Linked DNA regions of Homo sapiens: regions 1, 3, 4 and 5 are each linked to region 2. Evidence: promoter capture Hi-C in human tissues and cell types (Jung and others, 2019). All regions are on one chromosome and are shown on one strand. The core of a region is centred on a gene start or on the middle of the fragment in contact, and the rest is flanking DNA. Distances in the headings are between cores, read along the strand shown. Region 1 holds the start of LSM12 (LSM12 homolog). Region 2 overlaps LINC00910 (long intergenic non-protein coding RNA 910). Region 3 holds the start of MPP2 (MAGUK p55 scaffold protein 2). Region 4 holds the start of GRN (granulin precursor). Region 5 holds the start of NAGS (N-acetylglutamate synthase).

What was found. The method cuts DNA at HindIII sites, captures the fragments that hold promoters and counts their contacts. A contact is called where the count stands out against the background at its distance.
Region 1: the fragment with the promoter of LSM12 here is called in contact with a fragment that was not itself captured in region 2 in 4 of the 25 tissues and cell types used here (bladder, dorsolateral prefrontal cortex, hippocampus and 1 more).
Region 3: a contact is called between the fragment with the promoter of MPP2 here and a fragment that was not itself captured in region 2, in 2 of the 25 tissues and cell types used here (hippocampus and spleen).
Region 4: a contact is called between the fragment with the promoter of GRN here and a fragment that was not itself captured in region 2, in 2 of the 25 tissues and cell types used here (dorsolateral prefrontal cortex and hippocampus).
Region 5: the fragment with the promoter of NAGS here is called in contact with a fragment that was not itself captured in region 2 in 4 of the 25 tissues and cell types used here (dorsolateral prefrontal cortex, hippocampus, spleen and 1 more).

What each region holds. Positions count from the first base shown.
Region 1 is chr17:44,065,246-44,067,945 of GRCh38, forward strand. It overlaps LSM12 (LSM12 homolog), which reads right to left and starts at 1,426. Exons shown (of 5, transcript NM_001371445.1): 1 at 1,219-1,426. The coding sequence starts at 1,342. RefSeq lists silencers at 959-1,098, 1,389-1,508. The HindIII fragment of the contact is 14,418 bases long and covers 1-2,700 here.
Region 2 is chr17:43,383,442-43,386,141 of GRCh38, forward strand. The region is part of intron 1 of LINC00910 (long intergenic non-protein coding RNA 910); the gene reads right to left. Among named protein-coding and RNA genes, the nearest start is that of LINC00910, 4.1 kb to the right of the region's middle. The HindIII fragment of the contact is 7,633 bases long and covers 1-2,700 here.
Region 3 is chr17:43,906,089-43,908,788 of GRCh38, forward strand. MPP2 (MAGUK p55 scaffold protein 2) reads right to left here and starts at 1,448. Exons shown (of 13, transcript NM_005374.5): 1 at 1,386-1,448. RefSeq lists an enhancer at 1,458-1,607. The HindIII fragment of the contact is 11,562 bases long and covers 1-2,700 here.
Region 4 is chr17:44,343,904-44,346,603 of GRCh38, forward strand. It overlaps GRN (granulin precursor), which reads left to right and starts at 1,399. Exons shown (of 13, transcript NM_002087.4): 1 at 1,399-1,431. RefSeq lists enhancers at 1-370, 1,522-1,671. The HindIII fragment of the contact is 17,447 bases long and covers 1-2,700 here.
Region 5 is chr17:44,003,290-44,005,989 of GRCh38, forward strand. NAGS (N-acetylglutamate synthase) reads left to right here and starts at 1,333. Exons shown (of 7, transcript NM_153006.3): 1 at 1,333-1,800; 2 at 2,348-2,622. The coding sequence starts at 1,375. It also overlaps a transcript of PYY not described here. RefSeq lists an enhancer at 2,256-2,700. The HindIII fragment of the contact is 21,260 bases long and covers 1-2,700 here.

The sequences.
Region 1 (2,700 bases), core at 176-2,675, 680 kb after region 2:
AACATGGTGATACCCCATCTCTGTTAAAAAAAAACATATACAAAAATTAGCTGGGCGTGGTGGCGCGTGCCCGTAATCCCAGCTACTCCGGAGGCTGAGGCAGGAGAATCGCTCGAACCAGGGAGTCGGAGGTTGCAGTGAGCCGAGATTGCGCCACCGCACTCCATCCTAGCGACAGAGCGAGACTCCATCTTAAAAAAAAAAAAAAAAAAAAGATGCCATAAAAAATTACTCCTCCAAAAAAAAATTCCAATAAACCCACCTGTGGCTCACATAAAAAGGGAAGCCGTGGCACATTTATCCCAACAAGGAAGTGTTTCATTTCCAAGACTGAGTTTCCTGGAGTAATTCAGAAGTCACTTCCACCCCAAAGAAGCAGGCCACCTTTTCCAATCAGTTTAACATTGCTACTTTCAAAAGGGAGGCTGCTACTACGTAAAAGGACTCCATGTGCTGGACTGATCAAGGCAGCATGAGAACTTCACTCTTTCACCTGTAACTCACACATCCCCAAACCACATAAGCCCCTGGCAAGCCCTCTCTGGAACAGGTTTCCAGTGCAAACATCCCCTAAACAGCAACTTCCAAATGACCGAGAAGCCTAAAAATCAGCACAGCCCCCCCACCACACATACACACGCATCAGCGAAACAAGCCACTATCCCTAGCTCAGATACAAACTCTGCCCTGAACTTACTCTCCCCCAAAACAGGCAAGGACCAATTTGGTCACCATCCCACCGCCCTTCCTTGGACGAAATCCCATCAGTGCACATGCCCTCCTAAATTCCATACCTTTGCCCTACCAGCAGTTCCTTACCCTAAACACCCCTCCCCATAATATTTCACCCGCCCCTCCTTTCCATCCGGGCTCCAATCCATCAGCCCCCTCCCACCACCACCCCCTCTCCTAATTACTGTGTCCCCTCTCATAACGTTCCCCCCAAAAAGCCATCCCCGTGTCAAGCCCTCCTCCACCCACTGATCCTCGGTAAAGCCCCAGCTCCCGCAAAGAGAGAGAGACAGGATCCCCAAAGCTGACCGAAGGGCCCGCGGGAGGGGGAGGGGAGCTCAGGGCCGTGCGCATGCGCCCCGGGCGCCGCGGTAGCCGGTCGCCCCTAGGCCCGGAGAGAGCCCCAGCCGCCGCCGTCGTCCCCCACCCCCCGACCACCGCACCTACACGCCGGCCCGGACTCGGGCTTCACGCAGGGAAGGATACTTAAAGCCAGCATTTTGGATTGGTAGTCAAAGGCTACCACCTCGCCCTGCAGCCGCTGCTCCTGGCACGTCCGGCACGACACCTGGCTCCCAACGCTGAAGTACTCGCCCGGAGGAGCCGCCATCTTGGGAGTGCAGCCGCGGCCGGCGGCGGCGGCGGCAGCAGCGGGCGAAAGCCGGGCCCCCAGTGAGCGCCGCGACGCGACGGCGCGCACGGAGCGTGCTTGCGTCACACGCCGGGGCGTGGCCTGGCGCTGGTTGGGGCGGGATCCTAGGTGGAGTGGGAAAGAAGAGGAAATAAAGGGGAATCTGAAAAGTATTTGTATAGCTGCGTCCGCTCGGTTAAGTGCTTGTAGAGTCCATTTTAGAAGTTAAGGATAAATGACCTACGTGGAATGAAAAGGGGAAAGAGGAGGGAGCTGCAGTCTCCATTATATGCACACCTTCCACACAAGAGTTTAATGAATGAATTTTATAAAATATGTTAACCCCATTTTGCATATGAGGAATCAGAGCCTCAGAGGACTTAACGATACTTGGACAAGATGATTATAAGGCTGGGAGCGGTGGCTCACGCCTGTAATCCCAGCACTTTGGGAGGCCGAGGCGGGTGGATCACCTGAGGTCAGGGGTTCGAGACCAGCCTGGCCAACATGGTGAAACCCCGTCTCTACTAAAAATACAAAAATTAGCCGGGTACGGTGGCGCGTGCCTGTAATCCCAGCTACTAGGGGGACTGAGGCTGGAGGATCTCTTGAACCTGGAAGGCGGAGGTTGCACTGAGCCAAGATTGTGCCACTGCACTCTAGCCTGGGCAACAGAGCGAGACTCTGTCTCAAAACAAACAAACAAACAAAAAAAGATGATTATAACTACTGAGTGATAGTGGAAAGAACATTGGCTGTGGAGTTAGATAAGCTGGAACCAGAATCCGAGGTCAGCCTCTTACTAAATCACCTGACCTTGAGCAAGCAAATTACCTGATCCTGTTTCTTCATAGGCATTTGTATTGTCACTTCTTGAGCATCTAACAGCCCTTTGAGGTAGGAATCAATGTCCTCCTTTTACATAAACTAAGTTTTAGACTAAACTTGTCCACGGTTCCACAACTAGCAAAAACAGTCTGCCTATTTCCAAGGACGGTGCTATTTACTGCTATACTCTGTTACATAATAATACCTACCTCATAGTTAGGAGGTTTAAATGCGGTAACGGGTATAAGTGCATGGCATGTACTAGGTCTTTAATAAATGGTAGTTCCCCCTTAGTCACCCATCACTCTTAGAAGTCAAGACACTTCCCCTTCTCCCTTTTTGCCCTCTCTCCCAGAAAGCCAGGCAAAAGGCAGGAATGAGGAGCAGCGGATAGTGACAAAAAGGGGCTTGGAGGAGGGGTTTTGCGCCCCTGCCCTTGAATGTCCGTCTGATGTACAAAACAGTCGTTTTCTTAATCTTATGCAAAGGACTATGAGCGTGCATTTTCA
Region 2 (2,700 bases), core at 52-2,551:
AGGTGGAGGGTCACTTGAGCTGGGGAGGTCGAGGTTGTGAGCCATGGTCATGCCACTGCCCTCCACCACGGGCCACAGAGCGAGACTTGAAAAAAAAAAGAAAGAGAGAGAGAGGGAGAGAGAGAGAGAGAGAGAGAGGGAGAGAGAGAGAGAGGGAGAGAGAGAAAGAAAGAAAAAAAGAAAGAAAAAGAAAAAGAGAAAAAGAAAGAGAAAGAGAGAAAGAGTTGAAAATCTTGGAGGCCTTTGAAAACATAGAGAGACTGGACTTCTGTTTCTATGATCAGGGTGAGGTATACAGGTGGTCCCCAGTAGCCATGGACTGGGAGAGATGACACGGAGATACTACTTTGTGTAAGAGAAGAGTACATGTTTCAGAATCACAGGAACACCAATGTGTAATGAGCAGGCAGGCCGAGAGAAATGACAACGTATGTCCTTATAAAGACTTAGAGGCAAATGTTTAGAGCAGAATTATTCGAATAGCTTTGAACTGAAAACTACTCAAACGTCCATCAGTGGGTGAACGGATAAACAAAATGTGATATTCAGGAATAAAAACATAATGGTACAACATAATGGCACATGTCACAATGGGGATGAACCTCAGAAACATTATGCTCAGAGAAAGACATCAGTCAGACACAAAAGACCACATACTGTGTAATTCCTTTCATATGAAATGCCAGGAACGGGAACTCTAGACATAAAGTAGATCAGTGGTTAACTCAAGATGAGGGTGGGAGTGGGCAATGACTGTGTAGGGGAGGCAAAACTTTATCTCCTTAGGGTCCTTGCTGGGCCTGAGACTCAAACTGACATAGATTAGCAGGAGGAAAGCTATCATAAAAGCTGTCAATGTAAGTTTTACATGACACGGGAGCCCTCACAAGGAAATGAAAACCCAAGGCCACGATCATATATGTGCATTTGTTCTGGTTATTTTCTGCCTCCCCTTCCACTTGCCATTCTTCTCTCCCCTGCTCTTTTGTACTGCATAGAGCTGCATAAGGGTCGTGAGCCAAACAGCACTCCCTCTTGCTGCAGCTGGTCACAGGGCTGCCCCTGCTACTCATCCTGTGCCTCATGGGCAACATGTTATGCCCATGTCCAAGGTACAGAGAAGTGGACCCAGAGCCAGGGAGAGGTGATAGGGACCTTTGGGCGGGGTGGGAGGTGCTTATTGAGAACAGAGTCCATGTCACCATTAGGGAGAGAGCATGGAAGCAAGCACGTTTGACAATCCTGTGTCTGCCCTGTTTCTGGAGAGGCAGATGCAGACAGCAGGTCAGAGGGAATTTGACTGGACAGGAACTTGGGGGGTTGAGGGTAGCCATTGCATATAACCAAACCTGTTACACATTTCTTTGATATCTGATGTCATTGTGACATGATCTAGAAACCTCTGTCAAAATAGTTCCTAATGATACTAAACAACAACTGAGACTGTTTATTGAGTTTGTGAAATCAAGGAGTGGCTGCTCTTCTAGAAGCAGTGAGTTGATGTCTGTTCTAACATTGTTCTGAGACAAGGAAACCTTTTTATACTTTAATAGCCAGGGTCAGAATTTCTCAGATTGTATATTTGCATGTAGCACAGGAGATGCTCTTTTAATAAAAATCCAGAAATTTGTTGTGCACATTATTCAATAGAGAACAATATCAAATTAAACCAACAACAATGACACTTAACATTTGCCCAAAGCTTGGTAAATGTTGATGGTCACTGTGTACCTTCAGATAGCTGTGTACTCTAACAGAGAGAATGATTTCAAAATCAGTTGAAGAGAAAACGCCTCTGCCTGCCTGTACCTGTATATTACTGTCAATGTCAATCAGGAATGTGTGGGTTCATTCCAGTTATTTTCCGGCTCCCAATCTACTTGCCATTCTTTCATCTCCTGCTCTTTTGTACTGCATAGAGCTACAGAAAGTTAGTGAGTCAAACGACAGCCCCTCTTGGTGCATTTGGTCACAAGGCTGCCCCTGGTACTCAACCAGTGCCTCCTGTCCTCTCCCCTCCAAATCCCCCCTCCTTCTCAGCTATCAACTCTGTTAATCCTGGTGGTTTCCCTGGCTACCGTGACCCAAACTCTCATTCCTGAAAAGTCTAAACCCCTCAAGGCCACATCTTTCTCAAGTCAGGGTTCCTGCACTTGTCCATTCATGTCACAGGTGGACCTGGGAGTAACACGTGGCACCCAAACAGATCACCAGAGTTCACATATATTCCACCTGCCCTCCCTGCATAAGAGCACTACTCCCTCTTCCTGATGATGGTTCAGGGCCATTAATCCCTGCCAAGATGGTGACTGCTCCTGCCTGCTAGTTCAACCTGTCCAGCCACAGCTGTAGCTTGAAGGCTTGAAGTTCAATGGGACCCACTTCTGCTTCCACGCTTTCTTTCCTTTAATTTTAATTTTTATTTATTTGAGACAGGGTCTGGCTCTGTCACCAAGGCTGGAGTGCAGTGGTGCAATCACGGCTCACTGGAGCATCCACCTCCCAGACTCAACTGATCCTCCTGCCTCAGCCTCTGAAATAGCTGTTGTACAGATATTCGTCACCCTGAACAGGGCTTCACTACCTTGCCTAGGCTGTTTCTTTTGTGCTTTGTTTGTTCGTTCGTTTGTTTCGAGATGGGGCTCTGGCTTTGCCGCCTAGGCTGGAGTGTAATGGCGTGATCTCACCTCACTGTGGCCT
Region 3 (2,700 bases), core at 198-2,697, 520 kb after region 2:
TCTCCTGGCTGGCGCTGCTCTCCCTCACAGGGTCAGAGAAGGGACTCCAGAAGTCCTCCTTCCCTAGAGCGTGGAGGGCGGGAAAAGGCAGGGAGGATCCTGTATGAAATCCCTGCGCTCGGAAGTCTTGCCCAGCCTGCCTGGGTTTTCTCCCGGGGAATCGGTTCCCAGAGCATCGGCTGGCTTTGCTCCCCCACGCCCGTCCAAGCCTCTGAGAGGGCGGGGCCTGGCTGTGTCCACAGGAGAACGGCAGTGCCAGGCAAGCTAGCCTGGCTCCGTGCCAAGGTCCTGCACCCAGACATCTGGGAACCTGCACCTCGGCTTCCAAAAGCCTGGGCCCAGATGCCCTCTCAGCTCTGCCTCCGAGATATCCACATCACCCATAGTGTCCGCAGGCGAGCGGACCAGCAGTGAAAGGGAGAGGTTTCTTCCAACCTCCCACCCATCCCTCCATCCATACACATACAAAGAGGTGCGGAGAAGAAAGGTCTGACAAAGGCGCTTTGGAGAGCGAGAGGTCGCGGGGAGGTCTGGACAGAACTGAGGGCCAGAGGATGGGGTCGAAAGGCCAGGCGGACGTGCATGCTTGGACCATCAGATCACCCCTGCCCCAACGGACCCAGCCCTAACACCCTGGGCGCTAGGACCTGGGGGAGGGGGGCGTGTTGTGAGCCATCAAAGAAGGCTCTCTACGTGCGCGCCCGCCGGAGACCAGGGATGAGGTCACTAAATGACTGCCCCGGCCAACCCCCACCCCGTCTTTATCCGCACCGCCCCCCCCTTAATTGACCTAACTTTCTAACCCTAGCTCTTCGCTTCTGGCACCGGTCCCCTCCCAAGTCTCCAGACCCTAACCCTGGCTCCCGACCCGCCCCGCTACAGCTTGGGAAGCGGGAGAAGCAGCGCGCGCCCTTCTGCGGACCCCCTCCCAGGGAAGATTGTGGTGTTAGCTGCCTAGGGGGACCAGGGGGCCACCGGGACCCAGCGCAACCTCTGTCTCGCTCCCCAACCCCCGGAAGCGCTAACAGCACGGTTCTTACGTAATGCCGGGCTTCTAAGTACCCCCAACCCGCACAGCCCCCGGGGAGGCCGCGCAGATACCGGGGCCCCTCACAGCTCACCACCTTGGTGCCTGAAGCCACTTTGGAGCCCCTACCGCAGGGGCGGGGACCAGTGTCAATGGGCAGCGGGGCTTGGTTCTCCCAACCAGCACCCCAGAAAGAGGGCCCAGGGGCGGGGGCGGGTGGACAGGGAGGGAACGGGCCTGGGTGAAAGGGGCCTGTGGAGTTTAAACCCAGTGAATAGGGTCCTAAGTGCCGTGTCAGGACGAAAAGAAGGCGGAGGTCTTGGGATAGGAGCTGGCCCGGGGGCCGGGGGACGCCTACCTGCGCCCCGGGAAGCCCCTAGCTCCGGGCGGCTCCAGCGCAGCCGGGCGCTCAGCGTTTATTGCTTGTCAATCGCTAGCCCGGCTCTTAAAGCGGCAAGGCCTCTCCGCGAGGGGGCGGAGGTCCGGAGGAGAGGGGAGGTGAGGAGAACGCGGAGGCCGGCACAACTCGGAGGAAGTAGTCTTTCCCAGCAGCTGGTACGGGGGCAGCCAGGTAGTGGTTTGGGAGACACCGCACAGACCACGACGCCCTGCTGGAGTCCCACTGGGAAGGGTTAGGGAGGCAGGACTGGTACCAGTACCCGCTGGTGCCCCTCGGCTCCCAAGGATCCCTTAAAGGGGCGATGGTAAAAGTGCCTAATGAGACCGGCTTGATTACTCCGCCCACCCATCTTGGCTTAGACCGGCGTTCTAGTTCCAGGCGTGCCTCACTTTTCCTCGTTATCCTGCTTCCATATTGAGAAAAAGAATAGGAGGACTTCAGAGAGACTCCCAGGAAGCAGGATACCAGCCCCAGAAGGCCTCGGGATCAGGGGCAGCTTTTTAAGGACTCAGAGGGTGGATATCCGGATTCCAGACTTTCCAGAAATTTTGCAAAAAAGAGGAAATGTCTTCCTGAAAGGATTCGAGAGCCTCTTTTAGGTCTAGGTGAGGGAGGCCTGGTCCATTTTCCTGCCTATGGAATAAAGAAGTAACTGGCTAGCCTTCCTCAGAGTCCCAGCCCAAAAAGTAAATAAAGGGTTAAACCCACTGGCCCGCCTTCGCCCAGCCTCCGGCTCCACCCCACATCTGCTAGTAAAAGATGCTGGGCCTCCAAATACGGGAGGCTCTGTGCAGTGCGACTAGCATTTGGGGCCAGCTACGCTACTTCTCCGACCTCGGCGTTCAGCCACCCCGTCCAGTTGCCCTGAACAAAATGTGAGAGTCATCCCTTTTCCTTGCTAACTGGATTCCTAAGATCATAAATGGACTGCATCTTTGGCCGGGCGCGGTGGCTCACTCCCATAATCCCAACACTTTGGGAGTCGGAGGCGGGAGCATCGGTTGAGCCTAGGAGTTCGAGACTAGCCCAAGCAACATAGTGAAACCCCATCGCTACAAAAAATAAAATAAACAAAATTAGCTGGGCGTGGTAGCGCGCGCCTGTAGTCCCAGCTACTTGGGAAGCTGAGGCTGCAGTGAGCCGAGATTGCAACACCGCACTCCAGCCTGGGCAACAGAGTGAGACCCTGTCTCAAAAGAAACAAAAAGAAAAGAAATGGATTACATTCTGGAAACTTGCTTGGAAATCTCAGAAATGGGAATCTATCCCGAAA
Region 4 (2,700 bases), core at 149-2,648, 960 kb after region 2:
ACATTTTCTCTCCTCACCCTCCCATATCAATTCCTCGAAGGCAGGGCCGATCTGGAGACTAGGAAGCCACTTCTCTTTCGACAGCCCCCACCACAGCCCAGCCCGTGCCAGGCACCCAGCAGCTCCTGAAGCCCACTGGCATTGAACATGGCATTCAATCCCTGCCAAGCCTGCCCTTCCCATCTGGTTTCCCAGGGCTCTTCCCAACACCTCCTCCTCCACCTGCCAGTTAAAATCTTCCCAGACTCAGCTCAAGGAGATGCTCCTAAGGTGGAATGAAATCTCTTCTTCCCCACCTGGAGACAATCTACTTCCTCTCCCTACACCTGGCAACTGGCGCACAACCTTGTATCTTAAATTAGATTCAGCCTGAGACTGTCTCCCACCAATCCCTGCTCCCTGTCCTGCTGAGCACCTTGAGGAAAGGGCTTTGGGGCTGTTTATCTTTGTCCTGGAAACCATCCTTCAACTCACTCTGGGGCCTGCCTAGCATGTCAACCGAGTTTGGAGAATAGGGCAGAATAGGGCAGGACAGGACAGGACAAGACAGGGCAGGATAGGATAGGAGCGAGCCAGCTCAGTAGCTCACATTTGTAATCCCAGCGCCTTGGGGGGCTGCGGTAGGAGAATCGCTTTGGGAGCAGGAGTTGCAGGCCGCAGTGAGCTATGATCAGCTTGGGCGACTGAGCGAGACCCTGTCTCTAAAACAAACACACAAGTCCGGGCGCGGTGGCTCATGCCTGTAATCTTAGCACTTTGGGAGGCCGAGGTGGGCGGATCACGAGGTCAAGAAATCGAGACCATCCTGGCCAACATGGTGAAACCCCGTCTCTACTAAAAATACAAAAATTAGCTGGGCGTGGTGGTGCGCGCCTGTAGTCCCAGCTACTCGGGAGGCTGAGGCAGGAGAATCGCTTGAACCCGGGAGGCAGAGGTTGCAGTGAGCCGAGATCGTGCCACTGCACTCCAGCCTGGCGACAGAGTGAGACTCCGTCTCAGAACAAACAAACAAAAGGATAGAAAGGCGAGCACAAATATTCCCAATTCATAACACTCCCTCGCACTGTCAATGCCCCAGACACGCGCTATCATCTCTAGCAAACTCCCCCAGGCGCCTGCAGGATGGGTTAAGGAAGGCGACGAGCACCAGCTGCCCTGCTGAGGCTGTCCCGACGTCACATGATTCTCCAATCACATGATCCCTAGAAATGGGGTGTGGGGCGAGAGGAAGCAGGGAGGAGAGTGATTTGAGTAGAAAAGAAACACAGCATTCCAGGCTGGCCCCACCTCTATATTGATAAGTAGCCAATGGGAGCGGGTAGCCCTGATCCCTGGCCAATGGAAACTGAGGTAGGCGGGTCATCGCGCTGGGGTCTGTAGTCTGAGCGCTACCCGGTTGCTGCTGCCCAAGGACCGCGGAGTCGGACGCAGGTAGGAGAGCGGCCGCGCAGACCTCTCGCCTGCTCCTGCCCAGGGGCCCGCCAGGGCCATGTGAGCTTGAGGTTCCCCTGGAGTCTCAGCCGGAGACAACAGAAGAACCGCTTACTGAAACTCCTTGGGGGTTCTGATACACTAGGGGGAGTTTTATGGGAAAGAGGAAGCAGTAATTGCAGTGACGCCCCGTTAGAAGGGGCTTTCTACCTCCCCAGCATTCCCCCAAAGCAGGGACCACACCATTCTTGACCCAGCTCCACCCCTGTCGGTAGGTGCTGGCTTCTTCCCCTCTCCTGGTGGTGGTGGGTGGTTCCCGCGGCGGCCTGGAGCCGGAGGGGCGCGCGACCCTGGGCTGGGAGCTCCGAGGGCCTGGGAACGAGACCTGAGACCTTGGCTTCTCGAAGGTAGTAGGGACTTGGGAGTGGTGACTGAACCTGGTCTGGCTCCTCCTTACTTCCTCTTGTTGCGGGTGGGACGAGCTAGCTTCCGCCTCTCCCAGCCACTTTTTCCTGCTCATTTGCAGCTAGGTTGGCTCCCCTTTTGGGAATTTCCTCTCCCCTTGGCACTCGGAGTTGGGGGGTGCCACCTAGTGGAAGATAACGGAGCTAGGGTCTTGAAGAGGCTGCTGTCCCCTCTGGCTGTTTTGGCGGTGTAGGGTGGCATGAGAGACTGCGACTCGCCTCCTCATCCCTGTTTCTGTATGCGAGTGCTTGTATTCAGTAGAAGCATACACTATACTCCCTCAATTTAGGGTAAACAGGAGGGGCCACATGCACAGGTAATTCACCAGGGAGCCGAACACTCCTGTGCAGACAGACTCCCCTTCCCAGCAAGCCATGGCAGCGGACAGCCTGCTGAGAACACCCAGGAAGCAGGCGGTGCCAGCTGCAGGTGCTTTGCCTGGGAGCTGTGGGGCTGAGGAGAGGGTCCACTGTCCAGGACCAGTGAACTTCATCCTTATCTGTCCAGGAGGTGGCCTCTTGGGGATGCTGAGTTAGGGGAGGGGCACTTGAGGAAAGCCAGGTGGAGCAGAGAGGATGTGAGTGACTGGGTGGGTGAGATTTCCTGCCCCTCCCCCCGCAGTGGTATCCACACCTAGACTCGTGGGGTAACTGAGGCACAGACAGAGAGCAACTTCTCAGGCCCTCACAGTTGGCAATTCTAGGATTAGGACCCAAGTGCGATTTTCAGGCAGTCCCTGTACCCTGTTTCTGTTGTACCTGTTGCACCATTCCCAGGCACTGCCCATCGTGCCACTAGTGATAT
Region 5 (2,700 bases), core at 83-2,582, 620 kb after region 2:
TTGATTCTTAAGGCTTATGGCAAGTGATACTGGCCTAGTTACAGACCTAACATGGATAAACTTTAAGTTTAAAAAGGTTAAAGAGGGCCGGGCGTGGTGGCTCACGCCTGTAATCCCAGCACTTTGGGAGGCTGAGGCAGGTGGATCACGAGGTCAGGAGTTTGAGACAATCCTGGCCAACATGGTGAAACCCTGTCTCTACTAAAAATACAAAGATTAGCCGGGTGTGATGGTGTCTGCCTGTAATCCCTGCTACTCAGGAGGCTGAGGCAGGAGAATCGCTTGAACCCAGAAGGCGGGGATTACAGTGAGCCGAGATCGCAACACTGCACTCCAGCCTGGGCAATAGGGTGGGACTCCATCTCAAACAAACAAACAAACAAAAAAAAAAAAAAAAAAAAGGGTTACAGAGGTCGAGTGAAGTAGCTCACACCTGTAATCCCAGCACCTTGGGAGGCAGAAGTGGGAGGACTGCTTGAGCTCAGGAGTTCACGAACAGTCTGGGCAACATGGTGAACACCCGTCTTCAAAAAAAATAATTTTTTTTTAAATCAGCTGGGCATGGTGGTGTGCATTTGTGGTCCCAGCTACTAGGGAGACTGAGGCAGGAGGATCATTTGAACCTGGGAGGTGGAGGCTGCAGTGAGCTATGATTGCACCACTGTACTGCAGCCTGGGCAACAACAGAGTGAGACCCTATCTCAAAAACCAAAATAAAAAACTCTATTTTATTTTATTTTTACCAGATGTGATATTCGATAAAGAAAAGCATTAACACTAAAGTATTATAAGTTTTGAGGGGTGTTTTGAGGATATCACAGAATTCCTCAAGCTGGTACCCAGTGACTGGAGTTTGGCAAACCCTGGTAACCTCATGGTCATTCATTAGGATCTTTTTTGAGCTCAGGCAACAGGACAGACAAGGCCAGCACCACCCGCCCCCGCCCTCCCACTGCCCCCCTTCTTCTACTCTTTCCAGCGCCCTCCTTCCAGCCCCCTGCCCAGCCCTGTGCTCAAAGCCACCTACAGTCCCTTCTTCTCTGGTCAGAATGCCAATCATCCAAGGCCCTGCAGACTCCCAAAGCCGCCCCTGGAACCTACCTTGGCAGCAGATTAAAGACAACCCGCCACATTTAGTCTCGGCCCCATGACCGATAGTGGGTTCAGTTCCTCCAGGGGCGGGGGAGCCTAGTGGCCCCGCCCCCTGACTCATGGCCTGACCCTCCTCAAACGCACCCAGAGGAGACTCCTGGTCCCCTGTCCGGACCCCGCCCCGACCAGGTCCAGCCCCGCCCAACGGCAAGTTAAGAGCCCCCCAGTGCCAGACGCTCCAGACAGACTGCCACTCTTGGGGGGCAAGAGTTGGTTGTCGTCATGGCGACGGCGCTGATGGCTGTGGTTCTGCGGGCAGCTGCTGTAGCCCCGAGGCTGAGAGGCCGGGGAGGCACTGGGGGCGCCCGAAGGCTGAGCTGTGGCGCGCGGCGGCGGGCGGCGAGGGGCACCAGCCCGGGGCGCCGGCTCAGCACCGCCTGGTCGCAGCCCCAGCCCCCGCCCGAGGAGTACGCGGGCGCGGACGACGTCTCCCAGTCGCCCGTCGCCGAGGAGCCGTCGTGGGTGCCGAGTCCCAGGCCCCCGGTGCCCCACGAGTCCCCAGAGCCTCCTTCGGGCCGCTCGCTGGTGCAGCGGGACATCCAGGCCTTCCTGAACCAGTGCGGGGCCAGCCCTGGGGAGGCGCGCCACTGGCTCACGCAGTTCCAGACCTGCCATCACTCCGCGGACAAGCCCTTCGCCGTCATCGAGGTGAGCGGAGCCCGGCGTGGGCCGTGACGCAGCGAGGGGATGGGGTTGTGCGGCCACCTGTCCTCAGGCATGGCAGGATACGCTGCGGGCTCTGCGCAGCGGAAGCGGGAAGGAGCCCGGCAGGGCCCAGACCAGCGCCGCCGGGAATGGGAGAGGCCGTAAGCTCCTCCGGAAGCCTCCCGCCCAGCCCGAGTGAGGATCCTGGGGGACCCCACCCGCCAGGTGTGATGCTCTGAAGAAGGCCCCCAACATGGGCGCAGTTAGGGGTTCAGAAGGACCTGGACAGGAGCCGCTTGCACTGCCCCTCCCCCAAAGATGTCCCGGAGTCCAAGGTCGGAGGGAGGAGGGCGGGAGGTACCCCAGCGTGAGACAAGGGAGTGGCAAGACCCAACGGGGCAAAGGGCGGAGCAGGTGGGCACTGGTGGCCAGAACTGGGTCCTGACAGCTTCTGGAAGGGTAGGGTCACCGAGACGGCCCTGCAGGCCAGGCTGTGGGAGCCAGCGGCTCAGGTCCGTGTCACGCTCCTTGAAAGCCCACTCCTCCGCAGGTGGACGAGGAGGTGCTCAAGTGCCAGCAGGGCGTATCCAGTCTGGCCTTTGCCCTGGCCTTCTTGCAGCGCATGGACATGAAGCCGCTGGTGGTCCTGGGGCTGCCGGCCCCTACGGCTCCCTCGGGCTGTCTTTCCTTCTGGGAGGCCAAGGCGCAGCTGGCCAAGAGCTGCAAGGTGCTGGTAGACGCGCTTCGACACAACGCCGCCGCTGCTGTGCCATTTTTTGGCGGCGGGTCTGTGCTACGCGCTGCCGAGCCGGCTCCCCATGCCAGGTGAGTGCCCGCCCTGCCCGCCCAGGCGTCCTCAGAGCGTGCTACTCTGCCCGCCCTGCCCCGTCCGGCAGGCCTGGA